Linked DNA regions of Homo sapiens: all the other regions are linked to region 1. The links are contacts of gene promoters, found by promoter capture Hi-C in blood cells and fetal thymus (Javierre and others, 2016). All regions are on one chromosome and are shown on one strand. Each heading gives the region's core, a stretch centred on a gene start or on the middle of the fragment in contact. The rest is flanking DNA. Distances are from core to core; before and after follow the strand shown. Region 1 holds the start of ELOVL6 (ELOVL fatty acid elongase 6). Region 2 overlaps ENPEP (glutamyl aminopeptidase). Region 3 overlaps ENPEP (glutamyl aminopeptidase). Region 4 overlaps ENPEP (glutamyl aminopeptidase).

Region 1 (3,416 bases), core at 647-3,146:
GAGGTCTCTAGAAAGACAACCCTTGGCTGGGCATGGTGGCTCATGCCTGTAATCCCAGAACTTTGGGAGGCTGAGACAGGTGGATCACAGCCAGCCTGGCCAACATGGTGAAACCCCATCTCTACTAAAAACACAAAAATTAGGCGGGCGTGGTGGTGCTTGCCTATAATCCCAGCTACTGGGGAGGCTGAGGCAAGAGAACCATTTGAACCTGGGAGGCGGAGGTTGCAGTGAGCCGAGTTTGCACCACTGCACTCCAGCCTGGGCAACAGGGCGAGACTCCTCCATCTCAAAAAAAAAAAGAAAAAGAAAAAAGAAAGACAACCCTTAATGGGGGAGATGAGGACAGTCCCTACACAGAATCTTTGGCAGTGTCAATGTATACATTAATTTGCTAATCAACTAGGCTAGCCCTTTAATCTATATATTGTACTGGATTTTAAAAATTATTTCTTTACTTTCTCATTAGACCTTCCTCTTTTTTTTTTTTGTTTGTTTGTTTGGAGACAGAGTCTCCCTCTGTCGCCCAGGCTGGAGTGCAGTGGCAGAATTTTGGCTCACTGCAACCTCTACCTCACGGGTTCAAGCGATTCTCCTGCCTCAGCCTCCTGAGTAGCTGAGGTTACAGGTGCCCGCCACCACGCCTGCCTGATTTTTATATTTTTAGTAGAGACGGAGTTTCACCATGTTGGCCAGGCTGTTTTGAACTCCTGACCTCAGGTGATCCGCCCACCTCGGCCTCCCAAAGTGCTGGGATTACTTCTGTGAGCCACCACCGCGGCCGGTCCCTTCCTCCTTTAAAAATTTTTCTCCCAGTTCCCACTTTTTGTGGGTTAGAGGCATCTAAATTGAATGAAAGTACCCTTTTTGGACTACTGGGGAGGTGGGGGGATGTTCTCAGAAGGGGAATTTTCTTTCTGGTCCTAATATCCACCTAATTTTTAAAAGCAGGGCTCCTTATTATTTTGTAAAGTTTACAATTACATCATTAGATACTTCCATGTCTCATATTTCATTTTTCCAAACTCTTGGGGGAAATGAGTGGAGGGATGGATGGAATAGAAAATAGTTTTTCCTCTTGGAGGCTGAGGGCCCAGTAGGGGTCAACAGTACATTCAGCCCTCTCCTCACATATTCTGTTCTACCTACAAGTACAGCAAGTAAAGCCAAATTTCTCATGCATGCAAATAAAGTTTTTGCATTTGGCCAGTCGGTCCAGTTCTCCTGTCAGCTTCCTTCCCCACTCTGCCTCTGTTCATTAATCCCCCCCTTCCCGGTACCTAAACCCTCCACCTAACCCAGCCCTTTCTTCCACTTCCGGCTACTAGCCTCTCTCGCCTATCCACTATCCTCACACTCAGCATCCCCTGTCTGTACGAGATTAAGGAGCTCTGCCGTCCGCAGGGCCTGGGTTAGCGTGAATCTAAGCCAGAGCTCCCGGGTGGGGGTGGGGGTAGGGGTGGGGGTGGTCCCAGAGGTAGGGCGAGGAGGTGGGAAGCGTATTCCCTTCACTGGTGATCTCAACGTAGATTTGCCCGGAGTTCTCTTGCAAGAGAGCTGGCAGGTTTTACTATTTCCCAATCGTTTACTCGCCAAGCTCTCGGGTCCACGCGCCGCGGGGATGCGCCCTGCAAGCTGAAACTTCATTCAAAGCAAGGCGGCCCACGAGGTTGGGCTTAGGGGATCTGGATGACCTCCAGGCCACTTCCTTTCTCTCTGCGCCCTTCCCCCACTCTTCCAACCACCTTCGCTGTAAACAAAACTGTCCCCCCCGGGCGGAGAGAGGTCGCGCTCTTTCGCACACTCCCTCGCCAAGGGTTAATTTCTCAAATCGCACGAGGGGGAGGAGATTTCCCTGTAGACGAGTAAAAAGGGTGATGGACAAACGTGCGGGCACTAAGACCGCAAGGCATTCATTTCCTCCTACGGTGGATGCGGACGCCGGGAGGAGGAGAGCCCCAGAGAGAGGAGCTGGGAGCGGAGGCGCAGGCAATGCTCAGCCCTGGATGTAGCTGAGAGGCTGGGAGAAGAGACGACCGCTGGAGACCGAGCGGCGTGGGGAAGACCTAGGGGGGTGGGTGGGGGAAGCAGACAGGAGAACACTCGAAATCAAGCGCTTTACAGATTATTTTATTTTGTATAGAGAACACGTAGCGACTCCGAAGATCAGCCCCAATGAACATGTCAGTGTTGACTTTACAAGAATATGAATTCGAAAAGCAGTTCAACGAGAATGAAGCCATCCAATGGATGCAGGAAAACTGGTACGTGATGCTTTCGCCTGATACTGTTCCCGGGAGCCCTGCGCGTCTTCCCGGAGTGCCTTAATGTCGGTATTCCCTGCCTGGGCGTGAATGGAGCGATGAATCGCGGGCAGCCAGCTGATCGCTGAGTTCTCGGGTCTCCCGGGTGCAGGAGACGCTGGGGGGGGGGGGGTACATGAAGCGCGAGGTCTGTGGGTGCCCCTGTGTGAACCGCGGCTACATAGGCATCTTTTATATAGATTATATAACACAGAACATATGTGTGTGCACAGGGTGATGTCTGCGCGACAGGGAAGGCGGGAGAGATGCCACAGTCCAGATCGCCTACCTGTGCTCCCCTCCCCTCCCCCGGTTTTCATCTAGATTTGGGTTTTCTCGCTTGGCCTCTCCCGCAACCGGAGTGTGAAAGGCAGTGGAGGGAGGACCTTGTCTCCTGTTGCCTTTAACCCTCTCCCGCCCGCCGCCCTTGGCCCTGGTCCTCGCTGTCTCTCCATCCCTCGTGTCCTTCCTTTCTCCTTGCAGCGCTCCTACTTCACCGTCCTCCTCTGTCTGCCGCTCCTCAGGCGGATGCCCCCTTTTTAGTACCCCTTTCCCCACGCGGTTCCCTTTCCGGTTTCATAGAGAGACCGGGTGGGAGGGAGGAGGGGACAATGAAAACAGTAATAAATGAATGAACCCGAGCGAGTGGAGCCACGCCATTATTAAGTTTCTGTTTTACGGAAACGCCTTTTGGACACACTTCTAATTCTGTGCGTAGCTGCTGATTGGAGTTCAGGCACACAGATTAAAAGCCCCTCCGTCTGCAGAGTCCTTAGGGGCTCTTCCCTAGGAAACTAATAATCAGGGAAAACACCTTTCTTGTTTACTGTAGTCCCCCCGCCAGACCTTTTGAAAATCCCTGTGTGGGAGGCGATCCAGTGTCACCTTGCAATATTTAACAGAGGAGGGTGTGCTCATCTCGCTTCTTGTAGACAGGGTTGTGGCAGAGGCATTCCTCTCCTCCCCTTAACTTCGGGTCTGGCGATCTGTAAAGTTCAAGCCCAACGCACCCCGGAGCTAGGCAAGGGGCCGGCAGCCCGGGGGATGGCTTGACCGGGGAGGGTCGGGCCGCAGGGTCTCCCGGGAGCCGGGGGATTCCGCCCGCCGCGTGCG
Region 2 (3,416 bases), core at 457-2,956, 340 kb before region 1:
ATAAGTAGATCTTCCAAGACTTGGTTGACTAGGGCTGAACTGACAAATTGAGTTTCTAAACCAGCAAAACTGAACCCATAATCATCCAATCAAAGCTTGCACATTCCATGAGGCTTAGCTTGAAAAAATGAAGAAAGTGCTTCCCTCTTTGTCATCAAATACAAAAATACATGCCCATCATTATTTTGGTATTAAATATTTATGTATAATTATCACAGATGTTTAGTAAATCTATTTCTATAGAAACTGACTGGACAGTCTGGATAGTCCAAACCATCCAGAGGACACCCTCAAATCTGGAAGTAAGAGTTGCAAAAACAGCTATTGTAGAGTCCGCACCACCTCCTAGAACTTAGACCCAGCCCAGATCCTATGCACTTAGAAATGTCTCTTTTAAAATATTATGTTTTAGCAAGATTGGTTACCTGACACCATATAACAACCTTCAATCCTTCTAAATGTTAGAAAGCAGTAAATTAAATGCAAACAGGTGGTATGCTACTAAATGTGGATGCATTAACAATAGCCAAAATAGCAGCTGATACTAAAAGATGGAGACATAACTAAAATATATGCAGTTAACCTCTAAAAGTACAGCATTCTGGGGCAAACAACCCTTCATTAAACTAGGACTTTCTGAACTCAGAATGTACGTAGCACCTTGTTGATAATAGGGTGGACAGGAGACAAGAAATATGTGTAGTTTGTGTCATCAAGAAGCTTATAATTTAGTTGAGAAAAAAAAAAGAGAGGCCAGGCGCGGTGGCTCATGCCTATAATCCCAGCACTTTGGGAGGCTGAGGCAGGTAGATCACCTGAGGTCTGGAGTTCAAGACCAGCCTGGCCAACATTGTGAAACCCCATCCTTACTAAAAATACAAAAAAATATCCAGCTGAGGTGGCAGGCACCTGTAATCCCAGCTACATGGGAGGCTGAGGCAGGAGAATCACTTGAACCCAGGGGGCGGACGTTGCAATGAGCTGAGATCGCTCCACTGCACTCCGGCCTGGGCAACAAGAACAAAACTCTGTCCCAAAAAAAAAAAAAAAAAAAAGAAACAACGAAAAGAGAGAACATATGAAGCTTAATAACAATGATTTTGTTTAAAATATAAAGTAATAATACTAGGAATAAGGGCTGATGAAAGTGACAGGATAAAATATACTATATTTTATGACAGGAGATGATGACAGGAGAGATTATTCAGGGTAACTGGAGTAGCCAGAAAATGTTTTATAATAGAGGTTCTCTTCTTTCATTAGAAATTATGAGTTTAGTTGTTGTTTTAACGCCTAAAATAGCACATACAATAGAAATGTAAATAAAAGACCTTGGGGAGAGTCCCACTATTGCCTGAAGAATTTCTAACTAATGAATCATCAAAGAAACCAAGAGGAGGGAGGTAGGACTGGTAACATGAGCTGGTTGCCCATTTAGTACACTCAGGACATGTTCGTCATCCGTGCTCTAAGCTGAGAGCTGAAGATGTCCTTAAACAGGAAACAGGAACTTATTGTACAGCCTAAAAATGGAGCAGACACTTTGAAGTAGAAAAAGACCTCTAGTTTGCTTCTGGCTCAGTGACCAGACATGATTCTGAAGTTTCAGATAAAGGCAGATTTGTCATCAAAGCTCTGTAACTATCAGCCTCTTCATTTATTTGTTTATTCATTCATTTATTCAATAAACAATTATTAGATGCCTGCTGTAGATCCAGAACAACAATAACAAATAAGCTCCATTTCCTCTAAGAATATTCTGTGGGGAGGGGAGACATAGATAGGTCAATAGTTAGAACAAAAAAATGTGTGAAATGTATTGACAAAGGGATACGAAGGAGTGTGAGAACTCCCTGCTCTTTCACTTTCACAGTCATGCTTCTGTCCAGAGCACACGTCTCCTCTACATTCAATTTTTATCACCCATTTATACTCTATCCTTAGCCTCTGAACTCTCAGCCTAGATATTTTTTAGGAATGCTTCCTGAACCCCCAAACCTGGGCTGATGCTTCTATGAGTGCTTTTGGTGATCTGCATTGCCACAGAGGCACTTAGGACACAGCATTATGTCTGCCTGCAAACCCATCCCTAGACAACCATCTACACAAGGGTTAGGATTGCTTTTTTTTTTTTTTTTTGCTCCAGCACTGCCCCCATTCTTATCTCTGTGTTTTGCACATAAGCAATACGTGCTTGAAAGAATTAATCTAGTAATTAAGGATTAAATTTATTATTCCAAATATTCTAAGGAGTACATAACACATATTAGAACAATGTCTATTGTGAACTCTTGAAATGCATTTTACAAAGCACTTGAGTAAGCTTTAGTTATCTGGAAAATTCACTTGTATGGAAACTTCATTCCATGAAAGTGCTGGGTGAATTGTACTAGGGTAGATGAATTATTCACGCTTTCAAACTTGTAAACAGTAAATCAAACAGCTGCCGAGATATTCTTCCAATCCTCAATTAACTATGGTGACCAATGGGGAAAATATTTAGTAATAGTTAAACCAAATCCACTGAAAACCTTCCAGTGGAATTCTAACGTTCTTATTATGTCTTTTACCAGTGCTGTTACACATTGTTGAAAATGTCTTTTTTTTTTCTGTCTTCTCCCTTTTCCTCTGGCAAGTGTACTTATGAATAAGAAAATGGTCAGAAGACCACAAAAGATAGAGCCTCGCATTGAAACACAGCATAAAATACTAAAACAAAGTGGCATTGATCTGGGAATTCTGCAAAAATTTAGAATTTTTTTTGATCACGATATTACAATAATTATTAACATAAATAAGCAAGAGAGAGTTTTGTTGTAATAGCAATCCCTGTGCAGAAGGGCTTCAGAAGGATTTCACCTCTATAATGACAAAGCTGGTAGTTTGTAGTAATAGTAAAAAAAAATCACAAAAACTGTTAACAATAAACGTTTTTTTTTAAAAGGCCCAAAGGTGGAAAAAACATGCTGGATCCACAGAAAAACTTATACACAAATGTTTATAGCAGCATTATTCATAACAGACAAAAGGTGGAAATGATCCAAATATCTATCAACTGATAAATGGATAAACAAATGGTGGTATATCCATATAATGGGATATGATTTGGCAATAAAAAGGAATGAAGTAGAGTTACATGCTATATCATGGATGAGCCTTGAAATCGTTATGCTAATTGAAAAGTCACAAAATACTGCATATACACTTTTATTTATGTGAAATGACCAGAAGAGACAAATCTATAGAGGTAGGGAATACATTAGTGGTTGCTTAGGGCTGGGCATATGGGAGGCTGCAGGCATGACAGCTAAAGGGTATGGGGTTTCTAAAACTGACTGTGGTGATGATTACACATCTGTGAATACACTAAAAAACACTGGATTGTACACTTTAAATAGGTGAATTTTATGGTATGT
Region 3 (3,416 bases), core at 1-2,500, 310 kb before region 1:
TCCACCCTATCCTCACAGTGGAATTCCCCGCTCACCACTGTACTTGCCATCTGACTCGGGACCATTATCATAGTCCAAAGGCTTCCATCTGCTTTGCATGAGGAAAAGAGAGATTTCAAGTTTATGTGTTTAGGACTCACCATTTGCCAGTCTGTTTCTGCATGGTTTACTCCCAGAAACTCAAAGAAAGAAGCAAATCCTTCATTTAGCCACAAGTCTTCCCACCAGTCCATGGTCACAATATTTCCAAACCACTGAAATTATAAGCAATAAAGAGATAATTACATTCTTATGGGTATGGTAGAGAGGCCTAGAAAATGTCAAAACATTTATTTGTCCGTGCCAATGTTGTCACTGTGACAGAAGTGGCAGGCATTGTACTTAACATTTATTTCCTGCTTTATTCTGATTATTTAAATGATATTAAATTGTCTTTAGTTTATTGCCTTTATTTAGTTATTACTGGGGTACATAAATTTATATGAAGGCCTCGTGCATATTTCCTAAAGGCAAAACAATGTGGTTCAAAGTCTCTTTATGGCTAAATGTTTATTAGTACCAAGAAAGATTTTCATGCAAGTTTTTCTGAGTTGGCTATTTTTTATTTGCTAAGTCATAAATAATTTGAATTATTCCTGTGGTCTTAAGCCACTTTAAAAAAACAAGCTGATTCAGTGCTAAGATTCTGTACCTGATGCACAAGTTCATGGGCAACCACAGTGGCCACCCTCTGTTGGTTTGATGAGGCTGATTCCTTAGGGTCATAAAGCAGGTTCGTTTCTCTGTACGTGATGAGTCCCCAGTTCTCCATGGCACCAGTGCCAAAATCTGGAATAGCGATTTTATCTATAGAAGAAGAAAGAGTCCAGTGAGAAATACATTCTTTCCATTTGTTCATAGCTTTTCTTACCAAATTAAGTTATTTGGATGAATGTTTTTTAAAAGCCTAAAAATAATTTCTTAGAGTAAAGAACTGTAATCATGTGTGCGAACATTTCAGTCCTAATGCACTCAAAGTTTCCATAGAGCATTCCCTGCTGGCTCCAGATATCAATGCTTTGTTTTTGTTTTAAAGAAGGACACTAATGGCAATGCCTCTATAATTTTATGTCTTTTGTTTCTCTCTGTATTTCATTTTTATTAGCTACATGTGTTTTAGGGGATAAGCCGTGAGGAAAAAGAGAAGTTTTCAAATTAGTATTTAGAAGTTCTGAGCTTCCAAGTGTATAGATACAGTTTTCCATCCAAAGACACAGATTATTCAAGAATATAAAACTCCATTTTTCTCTAATTCTATAAAATATTGATAGAAATACCAATCTAATAGCTTATCATCCGCTTTTATGTATTAAATTGGTTGGAGAAACATGGAGTTGACTATATTCTCTCTAGATTCCCTTACAGTTCTAAAATGTTGGACAGGAGTTTCTATAGTCTTACACATAATATCTGACAGGAGGAGGCAGTGTTGATCAGTTCTATGTTAAATCCCAAGACAGAAAATGCTCAGATGATTAGTGGCCAAAATACAGCTTCCCCAGTTAATGAACTGTAAACAGAATGTAATTTCTTTATTATTATGTATAATTTAAATGAGGCACAGAAATGAAAACAAATTGATTTTTCACTTAACATATAAGAGAAGGCCCTTTCTTTCTGGTTAAAATAAATATTCTTTCTTTTTTTTTGAGACAGAGTCTCGCTCTGTTGCCCAAACTGGAGGGCAGTGGTGCGATCTCGGCTCACTGCAAGCTCTGCCTCCTGGGTTCACGCCATTCTCCAGCCTCGGCCTCCTGAGTAGCTGGGACTACAGGCGCCCGCCACCGCGCCTGGCTAATTTTTTGAATTTTTAGTAGAGACGGGGATTCACCGTGTTAGCCAGGATGGTCTCCATCTCCTGACCTCGTGATCCACCCGCCTCGGCCTCCCAAAGTGCTGGGATTACAGGCGTGAGCCACCGCACCCAGCCAAAATAAATATTCTTAGAGCTTTTTATAAAAGAATGAAGAGGGATGTATCTTAAGTAGAGGTCAAGATTACAATAGTAGTTTCCTTTTCATGTTATCTCATTTTTAGGTTTGGTTATTTTATCACAAGACAGTCATTTCAAAAGTAGAGAAGTATCTCCCCCAAGGGCCAATATTTTTCATAATGTTGTGGAGTGCAGTTTGCACTTAATCCTTGAACAAAAGGAATTTTTTGCAATCTCATTTTTTTTTTTTTTTTTTTGGTCAGTACTGGCATTGTAACTAACTAATTCTTGTATATTTAACTCTTTGGAGTCTAATAAATGCAGAAGTCACCTCTAAGGAGTCTAAGATATAATTAATTCTGAGAGGGTTGAAAATGCACATAAAACAGAATAAAGGAGTTGGGGAGAGGGAGAAAGAAAGAGAGGAGAAGAGAGTAATAAATTTGTGAGATTTCCACTTCTCAGGTTATCCTGGGTGCTACAACTGAGATAAAAGGCAAAGGATCTTTAAATTCATGTGTACAATATTTTATTAAATATTATTCTGATATTTTTAAATTGAGATGAGGTCTTCTGTCACCTAGACTGCAGTGACACAATCATGGCTCACTGCAGCCTCAACCTCCTGGGCTCAAGTGATCCTCCCACCTCAGCCTCCTGAGTAGCTGAGACTACAGGTGTGTGCCACAACACCTGGCTAATTTTTGTATTTCTTGTAGCGATGGGGTTTCACCATGTTGCCAGGCTGGTCTTGAACCTCTGGGCTCAAGCGATCCGCCCGCCTGGGCCTCCCAAAATGTTGGGATTACAGGCGTGAGCCACTGCACCTGGCCCAATATTCTGATTTTGATGAAAACTTGTTTCTTTTTCCAGCTCCTTCTCTAACATTTGTTAAGCAATCAAAAAATAGAATTGTATCCATTGAAGAGACATGCAGCATCTACAAGCTTGCTCTGAGCCACAGCCATTCCCATGCAGAGAATTTTGCATTCCCCTTGTGTGCATTGATAAGTTATTAAAGTAAAGGCAGAAACAGATACAGGGAGGCCAACTGTTGGCTAATTTGTTTTCTTACTGCCTTCATTTCATCCCTACAAACATCTATATGGGTGTTATATTTAAAGTCTTTGTTAATAGCTCTCGAGCTTATTAATAAAGCATTTCCACTATTGATAGAAATGTCATATGCACACCATTTTGGTTGTAGCCCCACTTTTGCTTTATGAAGAATGCATGTCTCCCTCTGTATTAGAAAAAATTATTGCTGGAAGGAGCACCAGTATTTCATTAAACTGCTGGGGAATCTAGAATTTGCCTTGTACAACAATGGAAAGACTGGAAGCACATGGGGCTCTTACAACATCATTTATCCCTATTATTTTTTAACTCGCTGATGACAGGGAGGCAGAGCAAGTATTGGGATGAATGCCGATTTTGAAATCAA
Region 4 (3,416 bases), core at 281-2,780, 290 kb before region 1:
TACTTGGGTGGGTGTCAACTATTAGATTTCAACTTACAGTAAGTGGGTAGGGAGCCAGGAGGGGAACCTCCCAAATGCCAAAGAGGAGGAACTCACTGTGGAGCATTTGCATTCACACTAGATGCCTTAAATTTCTCCCATTAGGTTCTGTTCAACTTTTAAAGGAAACGGCCCCACTGTTTTTTCAGGAGGGGAAACTCTGGCTGCCTGTCTTCTATGGAAGGGTTGGAGGAAGGGGAAAGTGGCATATCTCATTTTCTTGTAATTTTTCTGGCTCAGAGCCTCTGAGAAGTTTCAAAAGGGAATTTGGCTTCTGTTGATCTCTTATAAAATAGATGATTGGACAGTAATGTATTAAAACAATATTATGTTTGTTTCCCTCCCAAATGATGGAATGCATCACTTATTTAAAACAAAATGTTATGCTCTTAGTTTTCATAGAAGAACCATTTAAGAAATAATTACCACCTACAGGACATTTTGGGATCTTTTGCAAAACTGTATTTTTTCATTATATCACTTCAAATCCTTTATATAAAATCCATCCTAAGAACCCAGCTAACTAACTGGTACAGGCTCTAGTGATTTACCTAGTTAGTATAATATTACAAGTAAATGTCCTTGGTCAGAGGACCTGGTGATAGAGTCATATTGGAAATTCAAGCTCACTGTCACTATTAGAAAATAACTCCAAGTACTATGTCCTCTGCTGATTGGTTAAATGCATTGTTCTTACCTATGAGACTTTGTCATCTTTAGTACAATTGCTTAGCCTTTCTGTTTCCTCTTGGTATTTCTACCTCAAATAGAAAAATTTGCTCAGAATGTAATAATAATTTTTAAAACTTGGTATGGGAAACACCTGCACATGATGAAAGACAGTCATGCAATTGAATTGTCAATGATGAAGAAAGCAGCTTCAGATGAAAATTGCATGTTTGTTATGAGACGGAAAGAAAAAACCAAGCTTGACTAATGTTCTCACCTCTATATTAAGCAAGAGGAATGCCATCGACTGCACTCAGCACAATCTAGAAAAAACAACTTCCTATTTCTGATGCCATTTCCTTTTCATACCAGTATTATCTATCAGCCACTAGTAGTTCCCTTTACCACGACTGAAGGTTGCATCAAAGCAACCTATGTGTCAAGGAAAAGTTAGAATACGGATGAGTCCTCATGATATGCAGCCCCTTTGAAAAGGTCTGTGGACATCCCCCACTCGCTATAATTTGTATACGGTATAGGCAGCATGCTGGCAACCCAGGTTGAGGACATCTGAATATCAACTCCTACCACACCAAAGCAAAGGCAAATTTTCCCTTTGTTCATTTCACAGAAATAGAGGAACCCATCCCCTCTCCTCCAGTGACTGATGAAGAGGTAAAGATATTTTCAGAATATCACACATCAGAAGGCTAAGCAAGATACAGTATCTGGAAGGAGTTTGGAATTTAAGTTTCTACCACTTGCCAGCTGGGTAATCTTGAATAAATAGCCTAAATTTATTAAACTTCAATTTTTCTCATCTCTAAAATGGGGGTGATGATTTCCTCCTTATAAAATTATATTGCAAAGATGATGAGGCTTTATATATATGACATATATGGCACAGAGGTGAATTAACTGGCTTACTAGACAACCTAAACATATGTTCAGGATATAAGCAAAATGGGGGCCTCCAAAATGAAAAAATTAATTAGGTAAAAGTATGTGGTTCTTCAAAAGAAAACGATTGGGCCAGGCTCGGTGGCTCATGCCTGTAATCCCAGCACTTCAGGGGGCCAAGGCCAGTGGGTCACCTGAGGTCAGGAGTTAGAGACAAGGCTGGCCAATATGGTGAAACCCCGTCTCTACTAAAAATACAAAAATTAGCCAGGCGTGGTGGCGGGTGCCTGTAGTCCCAGCTACTCAGGAGGCTGAGGCAAGAGAATCACTTGAACCCGGGAGGTGGAGGTTGCAGTGAGCTGAGATCGTGTCACTGCACCCTAGCCTGGGTGACAGAGCCAGACTCCGTCTCAAAAAAAAAAAAAAAAAAAAGAAAGAAAGAAAACTATTGAACTAGTCGTCTTGATATTTTTAAAAAAAGCTTATTTATATTTTATCATACTTTTAAAAAATGCTTTTGGATACTTTGTTGCTACCTATTTTGATTACATATAGGAATGGAGCCATAAACTTTTCAGTGCCTTGTCATTCGAAGGATGTTCCTTTACCTCAGGTTTCCTCCTCTCTCTCTAGTCTATATCTGGGAGAGGTACACATATACCCAAACATTTTATTACATTGGGCATACCCAAACATTTTAATATATTTGTGCTGGTATACTTAGGAGCTAGCTTTTGACTTACAGCACATGTTTCCCTTGAAATAATTTAAGGCCATAAATATCTATGTCTGTTGTGTTGGTTTATTTTTTACCTGTATCCTTTCAGCCTACATTTTTCTATGTATTATCAAGTCCACAGACCCTGGGGACTAAAGGGCTTTTCAGGCATGTTGTTTGAAAAAAAAAAAAAAAAACTACCCAAAAAAGGTAGATAATTAATTACAAATGCATAGGTGGTAAATTTTTAAAATATAATGAGACTCACAGGTTTTCCACTATTTGATATTCTCTTTACAGAGTCAAATTGATGTACAGCAAAGCACACCAGGTACGTGCTCATGGGGACAGACTTCTCAAAAGTTGTTCGAGTCCATTTATCATCCACTGACTCTTCTTTCTATTGAAAAGAAAAGATAAACTTTTATCGATCAAAATATCAATCATATATATGCAAGACAAACAAATAAACGGTTGCCCCAAACCTTGCTTTCTAGCCAGAAGTCCTTTGTCAAAGCTTAGAGGTCAAATTGTTTGTGGTGATGTTGAAAAGACTACAGGAAAATTTACTTTGTTTTTAGAACTGTTAAAGACTGACTGAATTACACACTGTATCAGGTTTTTCAGGGAGAAATAAAATTTTGAGTGGACTATCAGTTAAATAGGAGTTTATCTGTCTACACTAAACACATCATGCTGACCATAATATTTCAGAGTACTGCAATCTCCTAATGAAAAACAGACTCGTGCTCAGATATTTGCTGATTCGACTGGCAGTAGGGCAATTGCTGTACCTGGTGTAGCGGAACATTGGCTTCTCTTTTCCGTCTTTGGTTGTCTACATCAAACACCAAAGGTATGGTCACCAAAGTCAGTGGCTCGGTCTCCATGGACAGAGAGGAGGATTCTATTGCTTGACACAACTACTGACCTATCTGGCTTGTTCTGTCCATGCCAGCTCTGCTGTCCTCACTGTCGATCACCAATCCTAACACTTCAACCACGAATACTTGCCCAACTCCTGCTTCCATTATTAAACATTTCCACATCTCCTGCAGCCACTCTATTTGGGATGGTTTAAAAAGAGATT

Evidence for each region. The method cuts DNA at HindIII sites, captures the fragments that hold promoters and counts their contacts. A CHiCAGO score of 5 or more calls a contact.
Region 2: a fragment that was not itself captured here is called in contact with the fragment with the promoter of ELOVL6 in region 1 in 2 of 17 cell types (monocytes and total CD4 T cells); the score reaches 5.4 in monocytes.
Region 3: a contact is called between a fragment that was not itself captured here and the fragment with the promoter of ELOVL6 in region 1, in 15 of 17 cell types (erythroblasts, megakaryocytes, total CD4 T cells and 12 more). The highest score is 13.8, in erythroblasts.
Region 4: a fragment that was not itself captured here is called in contact with the fragment with the promoter of ELOVL6 in region 1 in 5 of 17 cell types (M2 macrophages, megakaryocytes, M0 macrophages and 2 more); the score reaches 7.9 in M2 macrophages.

Annotation. Positions count from the first base shown.
Region 1 is chr4:110,197,095-110,200,510 of GRCh38, reverse strand. ELOVL6 (ELOVL fatty acid elongase 6) reads left to right here and starts at 1,896. Exons shown (of 4, transcript NM_024090.3): 1 at 1,896-2,264. The coding sequence starts at 2,176. RefSeq lists an enhancer at 1,523-2,315 and a silencer at 3,230-3,416. The HindIII fragment of the contact is 10,784 bases long and covers 1-3,416 here.
Region 2 is chr4:110,532,144-110,535,559 of GRCh38, reverse strand. The region is part of intron 11 of ENPEP (glutamyl aminopeptidase); the gene reads right to left. Among named protein-coding and RNA genes, the nearest start is that of ENPEP, 58 kb to the right of the region's middle. The HindIII fragment of the contact is 1,239 bases long and covers 1,087-2,325 here.
Region 3 is chr4:110,507,083-110,510,498 of GRCh38, reverse strand. It overlaps ENPEP (glutamyl aminopeptidase), which reads right to left. Exons shown (of 20, transcript NM_001977.4): 5 at 692-846; 6 at 141-254. Among named protein-coding and RNA genes, the nearest start is that of ENPEP, 33 kb to the right of the region's middle. RefSeq lists an enhancer at 2,819-2,988. The HindIII fragment of the contact is 3,342 bases long and covers 1-2,921 here.
Region 4 is chr4:110,490,343-110,493,758 of GRCh38, reverse strand. ENPEP (glutamyl aminopeptidase) reads right to left here. Exons shown (of 20, transcript NM_001977.4): 3 at 2,595-2,726. Among named protein-coding and RNA genes, the nearest start is that of ENPEP, 16 kb to the right of the region's middle. The HindIII fragment of the contact is 1,122 bases long and covers 970-2,091 here.